Linked DNA regions of Homo sapiens: regions 2, 3, 4 and 5 are each linked to region 1. Evidence: promoter capture Hi-C in human tissues and cell types (Jung and others, 2019). All regions are on one chromosome and are shown on one strand. The core of a region is centred on a gene start or on the middle of the fragment in contact, and the rest is flanking DNA. Distances in the headings are between cores, read along the strand shown. Region 1 holds the start of FBN1 (fibrillin 1). Region 2 overlaps SHC4 (SHC adaptor protein 4). Region 3 overlaps SHC4 (SHC adaptor protein 4). Region 4 overlaps FBN1 (fibrillin 1). Region 5 overlaps CEP152 (centrosomal protein 152).

What was found. The method cuts DNA at HindIII sites, captures the fragments that hold promoters and counts their contacts. A contact is called where the count stands out against the background at its distance.
Region 2: a fragment that was not itself captured here is called in contact with the fragment with the promoter of FBN1 in region 1 in 1 of the 25 tissues and cell types used here (IMR-90 fibroblasts).
Region 3: a fragment that was not itself captured here is called in contact with the fragment with the promoter of FBN1 in region 1 in 3 of the 25 tissues and cell types used here (IMR-90 fibroblasts, mesenchymal stem cells and mesendoderm cells).
Region 4: a fragment that was not itself captured here is called in contact with the fragment with the promoter of FBN1 in region 1 in 5 of the 25 tissues and cell types used here (bladder, hippocampus, lymphoblastoid cells and 2 more).
Region 5: a contact is called between a fragment that was not itself captured here and the fragment with the promoter of FBN1 in region 1, in 2 of the 25 tissues and cell types used here (hippocampus and liver).

Annotation. Positions count from the first base shown.
Region 1 is chr15:48,643,985-48,647,161 of GRCh38, forward strand. FBN1 (fibrillin 1) reads right to left here and starts at 1,725. Exons shown (of 66, transcript NM_000138.5): 1 at 1,591-1,725; 2 at 622-966. The coding sequence starts at 785. FBN1-DT (FBN1 divergent transcript) reads left to right here and starts at 1,821. Exons shown (of 2, transcript NR_183872.1): 1 at 1,821-2,846. RefSeq lists silencers at 700-749, 850-979, 1,390-1,569, 1,610-1,689 and enhancers at 1,763-2,287, 1,800-1,889. The HindIII fragment of the contact is 10,434 bases long and covers 1-3,177 here.
Region 2 is chr15:48,879,236-48,882,412 of GRCh38, forward strand. All of the region lies in intron 4 of SHC4 (SHC adaptor protein 4), which reads right to left. It overlaps EID1 (EP300 interacting inhibitor of differentiation 1), which reads left to right. Exons shown (of 1, transcript NM_014335.3): 1 at 1-938. Among named protein-coding and RNA genes, the nearest start is that of EID1, 2.7 kb to the left of the region's middle. The HindIII fragment of the contact is 4,319 bases long and covers 1-3,177 here.
Region 3 is chr15:48,823,080-48,826,256 of GRCh38, forward strand. SHC4 (SHC adaptor protein 4) reads right to left here. Exons shown (of 12, transcript NM_203349.4): 12 at 662-3,047. The coding sequence ends at 2,892. Among named protein-coding and RNA genes, the nearest start is that of CEP152, 14 kb to the left of the region's middle. The HindIII fragment of the contact is 4,959 bases long and covers 1-3,177 here.
Region 4 is chr15:48,488,718-48,491,894 of GRCh38, forward strand. FBN1 (fibrillin 1) reads right to left here. Exons shown (of 66, transcript NM_000138.5): 25 at 1,134-1,361. Among named protein-coding and RNA genes, the nearest start is that of FBN1, 160 kb to the right of the region's middle. The HindIII fragment of the contact is 8,940 bases long and covers 1-3,177 here.
Region 5 is chr15:48,775,269-48,778,445 of GRCh38, forward strand. The region is part of intron 12 of CEP152 (centrosomal protein 152); the gene reads right to left. Among named protein-coding and RNA genes, the nearest start is that of CEP152, 34 kb to the right of the region's middle. The HindIII fragment of the contact is 3,954 bases long and covers 1-3,177 here.

The DNA.
Region 1 (3,177 bases), core at 475-2,974:
ACAGCAGCCTTACTGCTGCAGTGAAACGGAGAGCCCCACACAACTCAAAAAACCAGTTCTCAGAACCACTTGCCCTGTTCTGCTTCCAATGTAGACATCTAAAGGAAGCATTGCCCAGAAAACCCAATCCGTAATTTTAATAAGCATAATTTACGGAAGAGTCAACTACTGTGTGATTTCTCCTCTGACTGTCATGGGAATCCCTTCCTTTCCTTGCCCCCTTTCAAATACAGCATCTACCAAGATGACCCCAAGGAAAGTACTTTCCTCTAGAAACAACCAGAATTGATATTGCAGGGAAAGGAACGGGCTTCTCCTCTTATCCCACTCGCAACTCCTCCCCTTCTTCCCCAAGGAACTCTTCTCGCCTCCCAAAATCTGCCTCAACAATGGCCCAAGATTCCATTTAACCACGTCCTCTCCTTTGGGGCAGAAATCTCTGGGAGTAGGGGCAAGGTAGTTTAACCACGAACGGGGTGGGGACTAAACAACCCTAGCACCTCTAAGGTGCCCCCAGGAGGTCTTGCCAAGGAGTCTTCCACAGGGAGAGTCATCCTGCCCGTTGTTCTGGATCTTGAAACTTGGGAGACCCACACCAAAGGAGGGAACCGGTTCCTTTACCCTTTAAGCGCGTCGTGTCCTCCACCGCCTCTTCTCTTGGCCCGACTGGCTCTGGTTTCCTTCACGTTCCCAGCCTCCAAATTGGCGTCCGCCCCATGGCTCGTGTAGGACGCTAAAAGCACGGTAAATCCCAGGGCGATCTCCAGCAGACGCCCTCGACGCATGATGCCGAGCCGCCACCGGCTCCCGCCGCCTCTTGCCGCGCCCGGGGCTCGGTCTGCGGCCGCCGCTGCGCCCTGAAGCGCACCGCGCCGCCGGGGTCCCGCTATCCCGCCGCCCGTCCCCCGGGCCGGGCTCCTCCCGCCTTCTCCAGGCGCTGCTCCCACTTCAGGCGGCCCCTGCCAGCTGCAACACAGAGACAAATCCCCGAGGCGGGGAGACTTTCAGGGCATCGGGATGCTGAAGCCTCGCGGTCCCCATTCCCAAGCCCAACCCGTGCGCCGCCTGCGCGTGGCGCAGTTAATTTGGGTAAGGGAAGACCGTTTGGTCCACAGCTGGCTGGAAAGCCCAGGCCCCCGGCGGCAGCAGCCCCGGCCGATCCCTCGGCCTCCCGGGCCCCGCCAGAAGAGCGCGGCGCAAAGTACCCATATCCCCAGCGGTCCTAAGCCCCGGGCGAGCTCTCTGGGTTTATTTTTTTTAGCGGCACGAATTGCGCGCGATGCGCGCTCTGAACGCCCCACTCCTCAGCCTGCCCTCTCCGCCAGGCTGGAAGCCAGCCGCGCCGTCCCCGCCGACTCCGGGCGATGCCACCGCCCCCCGAACATCTGACGCGGAGCCCGGCACCAAGAGCCCCGGGCCAGGAAGCTGTCAGGCAGGGGAGGGCCAGCGCCAGCTGTGGACGTTCCGGGACAGCCCCTCACCCCAGTCCCTGTCCCTGCCCTCGGCGCGGCGCAAACGCAAAAGCCTCCGTGGCCGCAGCTCCAGCCCCGGTGGCCGCCCGACCCCCGTCGGGACCCCGGCTGCACCCACTGGAGAAGCGGCGGCTCCGACTCCCGAGGAGGCGGCGGCGGCTGCTCCCAGTCGTGGCCGCTACAGCCACTGCTCGGCTCCGCTCGCAGCTGTCCCAGCTGTGGCTCCTGTCCGCTTGTGGCACCCACAGTCTCTGCCGCGGCTCCCGCAGCCCCCTCCTTTCCCCACCTCTTCAAGTATCGTCCGCGCAGCGGTTTCTCGCGAGAGAAATACTTTTTTTAAAAAAAGAAAGAAAAAGAAAATGACACCCCCTCCTTCGTCGCCCTCATCACCACCCCACCCCCCGGCCCCATCCATCCTCCCTTTCCACTCCCCTTTGCCAGCCTCCGCCTCGGTGCGGGGCCTCTCGCTCGCAGGATTAGCGCAGTGGGAGGAGGCAGAGGTGATCAGGTCCTGCCCGGCCTGGGACTTTTTGTCTTGAGGTGGGGAGGGGAGAAATGGGAAGAGGTGGAGTAGCGGTTTTAGCCCGCTCTGCGGCTGCGAGGTTTAGATCCGAGATTAACCTCTCCCGCGATAGGTGAAGCCCTACCGGAGCAGAAAGCTGTTCCACCTGCACCAAGAATGCGCGCTGGAGACGGTTGCCCCGGAGGCCCTGGCCCGAGAGAAAACCAGTCCCCGCTGCCCGCGCCTCCCGGTAGCGCGCTCCCTGCGCCTCTCCCGCCGGACACTCAGCAGACGCCGGAGGCCGGGAGGCTAAGACTGGGCGCGTCGCAGGCCGGGACCGCGGCAGAGGCTGCTGTGCCGACCGAGGAGAGGGCTCTGCCGCCCCCACTTGCCCTGGGTGTCGAGAGCCCACTCCAGACGCGGCTCTTCTGAGGCTCAATTCAAGCCACCCAGGCCTGAATCCAGGGTGCTCTCTCTAAGTCGGTGTCCAACCCAGGGGCCTGTAAATGTTGGAACCTAGGATGTAGGATGGGAGCGGTGAAGGGATGGTCCTCTTGCCCAGCCCAGATTAAGACTGGGGTTCATCTGGAGGACTCTACTTACACCCTCCCGGTCCCCTCGCCCTCCCCCACACACAGCTGCCTCTCCCCAGGATATGCGCGGCACAGTGAATTTAGTGGCTTTGAAAGGTATAGTATTTGTGGCATCCTTATATGGATAATGCCCAATGATGCCTGCACCCTGTAACAGTTTAGGAAGGCCTGAAGTCGCACACTGGGTCCTGGCTGCTGTAACTGGAGACCCCCAGAAGATCCCCTGCAAGCAGCCACCAGCCTGCTGTCAAGCCAATAATAAAAGCTCAGCACAAACAGGTACCCTGGGAATGTATCTTGTTGAAAGGGATTTTCCTTATTTGTAACCGTTTGTAAAGGGGCCCAGACAGTAGGGTAGAGAGACCTGGGCAAGTTATTCAACTTCTTTCCAAATACAAGATGGGACTTGTAGTGTCCACCACACAGGGTTGTAATGGTGATGATGGACATGCTGAACTGCTGTGATACATGAAGATGAAACAGAAAAACTGTGGGAACTATGAGCTGATCTAAAGCCATAGTCCTGTAAGTATGTATGTGGTGTACTTTAAGGTCTCACCTGCAAAAGGTCTCTTAGCAGATTCATGAATGAGAGCCTTGGTCACACACT
Region 2 (3,177 bases), core at 344-2,843, 240 kb after region 1:
CCACAGTTATCAAAGGCTACATTTTCAGTGTAAGATAAATGGATGAGTAAACTCAAATATGTATCACGTGTGCTTTGTATCTTAAGATGTGTTTCCAAGAGCATCTGAAATTTTGTTTGTACATGTATCTTGATCATTTATAAAGCCACTGTGATCTATAAATCAAGAAAATCCATTGTCATAACCATTTTTAAAAGTCAAAAATTAAGACATCCTTAATTAAAAAGTTTCAAATCTAGACACTAAATGTGTGTGAATGTACAAAGAAAACAAACCATTGCTTATGCTGTTATATACTAGAGAAATTTTGTTTTGCTTGCTGTTTTAACTTGACAGATGAAGGACTTTAGTTGAACTTCATATTGTAAGAACTGTTAATAAAAGTTGTCAAGTAAAAAGCGCTATATCTAAAAAGACTTTATGAACAGTTATTCTATCAACTTTTAAAGGTTTTAAACCTGCCCAGAAATTACCTTGGTATCTGAAGTTTCCCTCTGTCTCCTCCTCTAATTAAGCTTGTTATTTGTCATGCACCAGCATTGGAGATAATAAAATTTCTTGTTCTGTGTATTTTGTTTGGCTAATAGTATTGCATACATACTTTCTCTGTATACTACTTTCTATTGTATGTGTTAACCAGTATTAAGGGAAAATGATCCAGCTTCAGCTATCTAATTCACAAATTAATTTCTGGAAATTAAACTTTGTAAATTAAGTTTTTGCCTATAAGAATTTGCTGGTCTGGGAAAACCTGCCCTATCAATGAGTATGTTGCCGTGGTTACCTTACTAAGATGCTGAAGTTCTAGGAGAGTAATGATTACATCAGAAGGCTAGGTTCAGCAAAATAAGTGTATCAGCAGGTTTTATCATGATCAGTAAAAATGTTCCAAATGCTTCTGCTCCATTATAGCAGTAAAGAACGAATATCCAATGCAACAGGACAATTCAGAGCCTTATTTATTTTATGGTCATCCTGTCTTTTGGGGAGAGAGATCTGTAAAAGATAGGACTGTGACAAGGCTGATCAGAATTGCTCAGACACTAGCTGGGTTAGGAGGGAGAGATGGTGGAAGTAAAATGTTGGTGCTTAGACTTAATCCTACTGCCTCTTCCACTGCTTTCTCAATTAGCGTGCAGCTACGGTCAGATGAGTGTGGATAGGTAATTAATTGCATGGATGATGTAAATTAGTGTGGGTGGGGGTATGCTAGTGCACAATAAACTGGCTGGTTGTATTTACCTCCAGATCTTTATCTTTACCAGGAAAGTTTATCTTTACTAGGAAAGATAAACTCTTGGAAAAAAAAATCTGAGGTCCACAAACTAGAAGGTTGTGATTCTGTTTTTCTCTGGGACTGAGTAGGGCAAAGAGGTGGGGGTGGGAAACACTATTCCATCTGAAGGCCCATCTTGGGGAGAAAAACCTGGGCTCTGCAATTGACTTGGTTGTTTTTCAGTCTTAAAAATAGGCAGTAAGCTGAGAGACAATGAAAATTGTAAATACTTACTTGTATTTATTGAGGATAGAAAACATTTTAACACCCCTTTTAGGGGTGTAAAATTATTTGTGTTTCTTTTACATGCAGTTGCCACAGACAAACCAGACTACTTGGTTAAAATTTGGGTTCTACTATTTATTAGCTCAGTAACTGGGAAATTAATCTCTCTGGCTCATGTCCTAAACTGAAAATAGGAACAATTGGATGTACCTTACAAATTGTGAGGACTAAATGATGATGTGTGTGAGAGTGTGTGTGTGTGTGTGTGTGTGTGTGTGTGTGTGTGTCTTCATTTAAGGAAGCTAGAGAAAGGAGTTCTGGGGAAATTCTGATTTTGCAAGGTAGGGGATTTAAAGAAGATTTTGAGTACACGGTGTGATTAGGGAGAGTTTTCCAAATTTATCCATACATATTATAAATGTTCGCTTAGATCAGATATCCCATGTTGACTGTCTTCAGGCCACAGATCTATTTTGTTTGGTTCATGCTTATAATTTTAAGAGACCAACATCTCAGTACAGAGACAGCAGCTAAAAATCTAGATTCTTACCTTTTTATTATTATTTTTTTAAAGTAAAAGATCTGGGAGCCTTTGACCTATAGACCTATGTAGCCAACAAACAAACAAAAAAACAAAGCAAAAAAAAAAAAAAACCATCTGATTCACCTTTAGATAAGGAAGATTCTGTTTGCCAAGTCCCTCAGTGTTGTCTCCCCAACACAGAGGCCAGGTAGCACTTGACATTTATCATTGGGCCTGCACCATTGTTTTTTCTTGTGCTTGCACAGCTTGCATTACCTACTTGGCCTCTAAATATCTCAAGTTGCCTCTCCTTGTAGAGACTAAAGGATGTCTCAATTTTTGCCTGTTTTACCTTAACTCTATTACCCTTCTGAATTCAGTACCTGTTAGAGTTGTAGAAATCAGTAAAGAATTAGTGGGAGTGTGAGCAACTGAGACTCTGACTTTGCTTGAGGCCCTAAAATACTATATTAAAGTATGTCAATAAAGTCTGTTGCTTGAATTTTAAAACAAGGAAATACCTATAACTTACCCTTGCAAAAATGTATTCCCATCCTGAAATATGGTAATATTTAAAAATTGCAAGCATCGCATGTTTAATATTTTCTGCCTCTGGAGGTTTGTAAAATATTTTCTGGGAATGAATTGTTATATTCTTGATGTTCTCAGTGGCCAAAGATAAATGTGAACTATCCGTTCCATAAATGCTATCATCTATGAATATATCCATAAATTTGAACCTTTGTTTTCAGTCCAAAGCATATCTTAGAAATTAAGTGGGGATGGGGAAGGCATTAGTATTTCTTTGTATTTATTTTAGAACTTCCAGTGGTAGCATTAAGGATTTAATTAATCCTTTTCTTGTGCTGTATCCACAAGGTCTCTCATCTTTGCTGCCTTCATTTCTTAAACATTTTAGTTGCCTTTCTCATGGGAAATAAAGCTTCTTGAGTTGAGGCCTCTACAGTGGCACATCTCTCCCCCATATCCCCCAGCCATTTCCCCTAGGCCTGCAGGAAAGCTCAAAATAGTTATTAAAAATCAGCCCTCAGGTCTGAGATAAATGAGATCTTAACTTTGGTCCCCACTCTAGCAGTGGGCTGAATACAACCCATTCCATGCCACCAGTGCAGAAAAGCTATGGATTACTTTC
Region 3 (3,177 bases), core at 457-2,956, 180 kb after region 1:
AATAATAGTAACAAGTTGACATTTTTGCTGTAATTCATTTATGGTTACCTGAGAATCTGGACTTATTTCTCTGCAAATTAGCTTTGCCTTACTGGCTAACCCAAAGCCTCTCTAATGCTTTTAGAAGCTTGACTCTCTTCAAAGTCCTCTGTGCTAGATGTACTCCATTTATTTGCCCTTCCAGATCTCCCCCTCTAGTCTTTTCCATCCTCCTCTGTTCCCAGGAGGCTGACCTCCAGAACTGCATCAAGGAGCTCCCTTGCTCTCTGTCTTCAAGTTACTTGGGCCACTGGAGAATCCCAGCAGGAGACAGATAGGGGGAGCAGAAAAACGTTGGGTTATGAATGCCCCTCACTGCCTCTTAGTTGAGTCAGCAGGGCTGATTGCATTCCTCCACTACAGGCCACAGCTCCTAAAAGGCAGCCCTTGCACACAGCTCCCTCTCCAGATTCTGTTAGCTGTTCTTTCCCTTTCTCCCTTAATTGGCCCCAAGGCACTGCATTCTCCCTCCTGATTTCCCTAAACTCTGCCCACACCTTTGTAAATAGTCCCTTTAATAAACTCACCTTGAATTATCCAGTTTGATTGAGCCAATGTGTTTCCCTGATACATTTTACAAATGACAGTTTCCAAATCCCAAACATCAGACATATTCTGTCAATTGTCACAAAGCAATAATCATTTATTTTTTAAAGTCGTTTACAGGTATTTATAGGCAAATGGATTTCCACTTTAAGACAGATAAAGAATGTGAGATTAAAATAGCATGCAGACATTCCTTTTATTGTTTCCTTTTGCTTTAACTGTGTCTGTGGTATTTTTAAGTGCTGTATTTAACTACTATACTATTACAGTCAAATACTGATTATCCATGTGTACTGCTGACACCATTTACAGTCATTGCATCTATTTGTATCAGGAACTCTTGCTACCAAGTTAATACTCTGCTCAGCTAGAGTGAGACCACAGCCCTGCTCTGTCTCTGATAAAAGTGGTTAGACTACCCATACATTTCTACTGTCTATACTCATGCTGATCCCCTTTTTAAGGACAAACGATCAAGACCTAAGGTATATGGAAAACTGGTGAAAAATACATTAATTCTAGTTGTGTAAGAGGAAACAAATCCATCTAAAAAATTAATGGCAGTAGAAATAAAAATCATAAGCCTTTACAGTAAAATATTAGAGTGCAGTATGCTTGGTTTCTAATGATTTCTATCCAAAAGAAGTTTTATTTAAAACTTAGCAAATATATCACAATCACAAAGACTAAGTTGTATCTACATAGCCAAAATGAAATGGAGTCAAGGCAATATCCAGATAACTCAAGATTAAAAAAAAAAACAAAAAACATTTTTCTTGGAAAGGCAAGAAAAGGACATAAGTAGTTTTCTGCTACTCAAACCAAATCCACTTTTATCATCATTCCCTATATTCCAAAGTTTCAGTATTTTAGACTGAATGGTTTGGAGTCTAAACTATGTGAATGTTGATCTCAGGTGTGCCATTCATTCTGTGAGTATGGACACAGACTATAGAAGAAAAGCTTAATTTTTTACCTTAACTATACAGACTGGTTATCAATAACGACCTCTAACAAATGAAAAACTTGCTTTTTAGAGACTCATACTATAAGTTAGGACTGAAGTAGTCCTCCAAATTCACCTAGCCCATTTAGCTCATTTTATTGCCAAGGAAACTGGAACCCAAACAGATTCAGCAACTTGCTGAAGGTCACACTGGTAAGACTCAGCGTAATGCTTTTCTGTACACCATGCTTAATCACTCTGTTAGTTTACCAGTTGGTCTACATGTGGAAAATCTTTCCAAGTGCTTCATTCAATATGTTTTTTTTTCCTTCTGCATTTTGTCTGATCATATCTATACGAGGTGCTAAGGATATATGTAGGTGAGAAACTATGATTCAGTGTCAGCCAATCAAGAAGAAATTTTACTATAATTTCAAATAGATTCTGTACTTTTACTAAGAATGAAACCAATTTGAATAGTAAATATGAAGAATACTGGTTTTGTTTGCCCTCTTTTAAATCCATGCACTCATGAGGTTTTTTTTGTTTTTTTTGTTTTTTGTTTTTTGTCTTTTTAGCAGGAAGAGGGGGAGAATATAATGAAATCAGAAATGACTGATAGATTTGGCTTCTTCAGCTTGTCACATGCTGTATTTAGACAGTCTGAATAGCAAACACTGAGAAATGCTAGGCCAGAGGATTTGGGCCCCAATCCTTTTAACCAGCAAATGGGACAGTCCAATGAAACAGACAGCCATGTTAGTGGCTTTTGATTTGATTCCACTGACATACACACAGTTCGAATTCAATGTCATATTTATTTTAACATTGCAGTGAAAAATGCTGCTAAACAGAAAATGTAATAAAGTCAATAAGGCTCAAGAAAATTGCTTATTTTTTGTAGCAAGAAAAGCTTTTTTTTTTGGCAAATGGTTCTATAGTCATAGAACATGAAGATACTTAGAATTAATCTCCCAATATGAAAATGTCCCCCAAATTATCAAGTTGAAAGGCACATACCACTGCCCCAGCAGTTCATTCAAGTTGTCGTTAGCATGTGAAATTTTAGTTGTGCTTTTAGCTTGTTATCAATGCAATATGGCCTTAAAAAGTGACATCCGTGCATACATATAATTTCTTTTAAAATGACCAACCCTCTTCCTCTTTTCTGATTTTCATTTCTGAAGACTAATTTTTGTTAGTTCTTCATTTTATAGAGGACCTGGTCCATGATGGTCTTGGAAAGATGCACTTCACAGTTTGTGCTCTATTTTATCTACAAACAAAGTTTAAATTATCTTTGTGTCCTAATACAAAATGGGGTTTCTTGAAATATCAGTGTGATGGTGCTTCAATACTGTCATTTGTTGGAATGCAAAAGTGCTGGATTATTATCTTTTCTCACTGGTTGTTTAAGGCTTACTTCGCTTCCAGAGGAGATGATTGGCAAACTGTTATCCATATGGTATCTGATAAGGTGGCCGACATTATCAAATACATGATCCTTGGTCCTCACCTTGAAAAAGAAGTACAAATATATTTAGGTTAAATTATAGTAGTTCTCCTGAAAGATATAAATAATAAGGGGGAAAATGCCAGATATATCCCTAAAGTAGATACTTTGCTGAAAAAAGAAAAGGTACTTT
Region 4 (3,177 bases), core at 162-2,661, 160 kb before region 1:
ATGTGTCTATTCAGACTTCTAGGGCCCAGCACACTGCCTGACACATAGTGAATATTTAACCACTACTTGCTGAGTGAATAGATAATATATTCTAAACCACTAGTATCTATATTTAAAGCACATAGAACATTATTAGAATATATTATCCTACAGCTATCAATTGACTGTGTAGCAGAATGAGATATTCACTTAATACTGTTTGGTGCTTTTTTGGATATGCCAAAAATATAAAAATTTCAAAGATATAATTTATAATTTAAATTATTTGCAAATAATTTGTACAATTTAAAAATATTTTCTTAATGTATATACCTTAAGATGTCTTTCTTTCTTTTTTTGAGACAGGATCTGCTCTGTCATCAAGGCTGGAGTACAGTGGTGTGCTTGGCTCACTGCAACCTCTGCCTCCCAGATTCAAGCAATTCTTGTGCCTCAGCCATCTGAGTAGCTGGGATTACAGGTGTGCACCACCATGCCTAGATATTTTTTTTTTTTTTTTTTTTTTTTTTTTTGTAGACACAGGGTTTCACCATGTTGCCCAGGCTGGTCTTGAACTCCTGGACTCAAGTAATCTGCCCACCTTGGCCTCTCAAAGTGCTGGGATTATAGGCATGAGCCACCGCATCCAGCTCAAGATCTCATTAATATAATTTAAAGAGCTTCTTGTACACTAGAAAACTGCATACATGTAACATGTGACCTGAGTTTCCCACTACAGGGCCTTTTTCCAAAACAAGACCAAACACTCAAGAAATACGCAAGTAATTTCTACATGTAAGACAGAACTGGGAGATTAAATCTCCAGAACACCAAGTCCTTCTTCAGCAATGAATTACCATAGCTTTTGGAAGCAAAATTAAAGTTCCTTTGAGTTTACGTAACTGACATTTAAGAGGGCCACCTAGAAACTATCTGAAACTATCTCTCCATACAGAACAATTTTAACCCCCAGGACTTCTTGGACCAAACAGTTAAAAACAAAAAGTTCATACTTTTCTAAACAAAGATAATTATATAATTCAGAAAGCAAAAAGTCCATGCTGGGATGATCAAGTAGAGTGCTGAGATCATGAAAATGCATCCTATTTGTCTAAAAAGGGAGGCAATTGGCCATGGAAAACGTAACATTGTACCTTTGAAGAAAGGCTTTCCATTTGTAATTTCTTTTGTGGCAAATCCGGGTCCTCTCGGACACAGCTCCTCGTACTCAGGAGTATTTCTCATGGGACACTCCTCGCATTCCTCAGTACCCCAGGCTGCCCCGACGGAGCAGCAGCAGGCGTCCATGCGGTGGCGGCCAGCAATAGGCAGGGTGCACTCCTCGTCCTCGTACCTCAGGAAGCAGGTTTCCAGGCGGATATCTGTCAGAGGGAATCAAGGGAGGTTAAATAGAGCCACACGGCTTCCACTGCCCCAAACTGCCAACACTCTGTTAGGTAAAATACTGCACACATAATAATTTGCTGTATACTTATTGACTGGAATTAGTTTTATTCCTCAAAAAAAACCCCAGGCTCTGGGGTAAGTATCCTTGCCTAATAAAGACTCTCTTTGTCAGCCCATGTTTGCACCTCCTACTTCTGAAAAGTTCCCTTTCAACATCTGATAATTCTACATAAGGAATGGTATTCTGAGAGATCCCACAGTGTTCTTTCGGGAGATGTTTTTCTCCTGTACAGAAATACCTATCACCGATGCGTGCATGCCATGATGTCTTGGCATGTCCTCCACAGCTAAAAGCCAACTGTACTCTTTATTGTTGGAGCGTGTCTGCCCTAGTGCAATCACCTTTTCCTCCGACCCACTTCATTTTTGGAAAGGTGGAATGATGAACTCTGGAAAGAGGACTGCTTTACTTGAGATTAAAGAGAAAAATGCAAAGAAAAGCCATTCACTTTACTTCTCAAATATTTCTTTCACCTAAACACGTGCTTAAGGGCACATTCTTCAAGGTACTTGTGGGATACCTCTAGCCCCAAACCCAAATTCATGGGATTATAAAGAAGAGCAGAAAGCCTAGCAGAGCAGAGGTCAGAAGAGCTGGATTTTGGTCCTCTTCTGTAACTCAGTGGATTGTCTTCAATAAATTATCCTAAACCTGAATTTCCACATCTGTTACAGGATGTTGCACTCATCTCTCAGAAGGTTCTGTGAAGCTCAACTGAGATTATGCATCTGAAAATAATGAAGTGTAATTGAAATGTAAGATGTATCTTCCTTCTCTTTCTCCTTCACAATGGGGTCATTAACAATATATCTAACTCCCTGGGTTTCCTCTAACGTTAGAAAGTTTTTGAAGTCTTTATATTCAGCTTTATATTCAGACTGCCCATATTAAGATAAATTATTTTTAAGTGAATCCTAAATTAAACACTGAAGCATCTTTCAACTGAAGAACCTAGAAGAAGATTCTCATTAAATACTGATTCTTCCTAAACAAATAAACTAAGACTCAGAATAGCATTAACTGACATCCTTAATTACAAAAATACTTTTGGCTTTGAATTCCCGGTTCCATTCCATATTATTTATTTACACTATAAACTATAAAGTTCAATATTTAAAGGTTTGTTAATTCTAATTCGTAAGTGATCAAAATCCTTCACTGTATACCACTTTCTTTTTCTTTTTCTTTTCTTTTTTTTTTTTTAGAGACGGAGTCTCACTCTTTTGCCTAGGCCGGACTGCAGTGGCACTATCTCGGCTCACTGCAAGCTCCAACTCCCGGGTTCATGCCATTCTCCTGCCTCAGCCTCCCGAGTAGCTGGGATTACAGGTGCCCGCCACCGTGCCTGGCTACTTTTTTTGTATTTTTAGTAGAAACGGGGTTTCACCATGTTAGCAAAGATGGTCTCGATCTCCTGACCTCGTGATCCACCTGCCTCGGCCTCCCGAAGTGCTGGGATTACAGGCGTGAGCCATCGCACCCGGCCCACTTTTTTAACTACCTACAATAGTCTTCACTGAGCCTACACTTCAAAGTAATGTGGTTTCAGATGCAAAGTACAGGTAAGCATCATTTCCAGAGTCATGAACTCAGAAACCAGTGATCCAAGGGATATACTCTAGGCAGGCAGAAGCCATAGTAGTAACACCAGAATAAGTCTGCCAGACCTTAGATGCATGAGATGTGCGATCTCAAACTTGCCACTATCACGAGCCCATAGGGACTTAGGA
Region 5 (3,177 bases), core at 431-2,930, 130 kb after region 1:
AAAAGACATAATAAATTTATATATTCAAGAAGCTCAGAGAACCCAAAATGAGATAAACTAAAGAAAAACACACTTAAACATATCATAATCAAAGTACCAAAAACTAAATATAAAGAAAAAAATTCTTAAAGCAGCAAAAGAAAAACCTATACATTACTGACAGAAACACTAATTCAAATAACAATGAATTTCTTCACAGAAACCATTGAGTCCAGAGAGAGTGGACCAACATAGCTTTAATGTGCTGAAATAGAAGAACAATTGGTCAGGAATTGTATAATAAACAAATATAAGGATATTTTCATAAAAGGAAACAGACTCTGTCAGCAGCAGACATGCTTGAGAAGAAATGGTAAAGAAAATTCACAGAAGATCATATTATACGATTCTATTTATATGAAATGCACAGAGCTGTCAAATCCATAGAGACAGGAAGTAGATTAGTAGATTAGTTGTCTGGAGCTGTGGAGGCAGGAAGAGGTAATGGGAATGACTGGTAATAGGCATGGAGTTTCTTTGGGGGGATGTTGAAATGCTGTAAAATTAGGTGTGGTGATGACTGCACAGTTCTGTGAATATACGGAAAACCACTGAGCTGTATTCTTTAAGTGGGTGTCTTTTATGGTATGTGAAATAATATCTCAATAAAACAGTAAAAAAAAAAAGAAAAGAAAACCCAAACACCTAACGTATGAGTTTCCTTCATATGAAGGCAAATCTAATAATCTGTAGTGCTTAGGTGTGAATAACTGGGTATTAAAAAGCTAAGGGAAAAAAAAAACAGAAAATGATTGCCCTAATAGATAAGATAGTAGTTAGCCTCAAGGTTACAATAAGAAAGAATATGGGCAGCTCGTGGCAATATTTACTTCTTGACCTGGGTGGTGGTCCTACGAATATTCACTTTCAAATAATTCATTAAGCTATATATTTATGTTCCATGTTTTTTATATGGTATATTTCATAATTTGAAAGATTTAAAAAGCAAAATAAAACTATAGAAAGTACTAGAGAAATACCTTATTTTTAAATATCAAGAAACCATAAATGAAAACAGTGACAGATCTAACTATATAAAAATTATAAACAGGAAAAGTGATAACTCTCAATACTGGCTAGGTTACCAAGAAATAGGGACAGCCTCAGGACGTGGGTAATAATGTAAACTTTAGGGCTGTTTAGTAATATGCATCAAAGCCCTCAAATAAGTGCACACCCTCTAGCAAGACAATTATTCTACTTCTTTAGGAAGTAATCAAAGATGTGAATAAAGACTTGACTACAAGGATGCTTATAACAATGATATTGCATTATTTATAAGTAAAACTTTTAAACAGCGATTTAGTAGCTAAACTGGTTCATTCATCTACATAGTCACTAAAAGTAATCTATAAAAATATTCACTAATATTCAAAGATTTCAGAATATACTAGTAAAATGACATTATAAAGAAATATTATCAATATTATTTTATCTTTTAGAAACATACAAAACAGGTGATGTGGAAGTTTTATACTGAAATATAAAAGTGGTTTTCTTCATGGGAAGTAAGGTGAGATTATTGGTGACTTCTATTTTCTTCTTTTTTAGTCTGTATTTTCTAATTTTTTCATAATGGAGGATTAAGTTACTTTTGAAAAGAAATAAACAGTTGACAGTATCTGCCCTTAAGATGAGGTGATGAAAGTCTCTGTGGTCTTTCTCCACAAAACCCATGAGAAAAACGTAATCATAAGAAAAACGTCATATTCCAATAGACAAGCTTCCTACAAAATACTTGGCCAGTATTCCTTACGACTGTCAAGGTCATCAAAAACAAGTAAAGTCAAGAGAAATCTAAGGAAACATGACCCCTAAATGTAATGGGGTAGCCTGGTTGGGATCCCAGAACAGAAAAAGTATGTTAAATAAAAACCAAGGGCATGTAAATAAACCCTGGATGTTAATTAATAATAATATACCAATATTGGCTCATTAATTGTAACAAATGTACCATACTAACATAAGGTATTAGTAGGGAAAAATGGGTGCAGCATATCGTATATAGGAACTCTGCGTAATACAAATTTTTCTGTAAATTAAAAACTGTTCCAAAAATATATTTTTAAAAAACCTTTATTAGAAACAAAAATACTACCTGAGTTAAAATGTTTACTGTTCTTCAGTTTTAGATGATTCCAAATAAAATCTTAGAATATTGTGTGTGTGTGTGTGTGTGTGTGTGTGTGTCTGTGTGTATGGGTGTGCGAGACAGAGAAAATGAACAAACTATTAGGTAGGCTTTTTAATGTTATAAAAGGAGCTTTTGCAATACAAAATGCAAATTTGTATATGTAATATATATATATATTTTGTAAGTAGTCTGTCTATATACATAGATCTCATTTAAACCACTTCTATTTCCATTGAAGTAGAAAATATAAATTACAAGAAATATAAAATATTTTACAATATAACTTCCTGTGCCATAAGACATGGTGAACTAACCTTAAGCAGAATGATTATTTTGCTCGGTTAACAAATTATGCATCCCCAATTTCTTTTCTTACTGAATGCTGACCACTGAAATAGCACATCCTGTACTCCTAGAGGGAGCCAAGTCAGAGAGAGAAAGTGCTTGCTAAAATAATTTTCTCTTCTTTCCTCAAAGGGGAAAAAAATCAGTGGTAGTGACCAATCCTGAAAAAGGCTCACTACTGAGTCCCATGGAAGTCAGTTCTCCTAAATCCAAATAAACTGTAGTCCCTTATGAAGCCTGCTGAGAAGACCAAAGGGAAAAGGCATTCCACTTGTTAAATGTTTATTATTTGAGCTTAGCAGCCAACTATAATAAGGGAGAGAGGAAGCTGTCTGCAAGCTGCATGCAGATTTAGCTACTCAAATTCCATGAATGTAAAATAGAACATTGAGGCTAAACCCTTAAAATTTACTAGGCAGTAGCTTGAGGGAGGAGGTAGTTGGTAATAAAAGCTTGTAGCCACCAATATTTGAGTCAGTGATTTGAAAGCAGCCCAAGTCAACAAAGAACTAAAATTCCCAACACATGAAAATTATTGCTTCCCCTTATTCTAGGAATCACAGTAGACCAGGGGAAAGAGACAAATATCTTCTCTCCTTTATCTCCTTTGAATTTGATCTGAGTATAATAGCTTTTAGTTTTCCACGAAGCCAAAATAT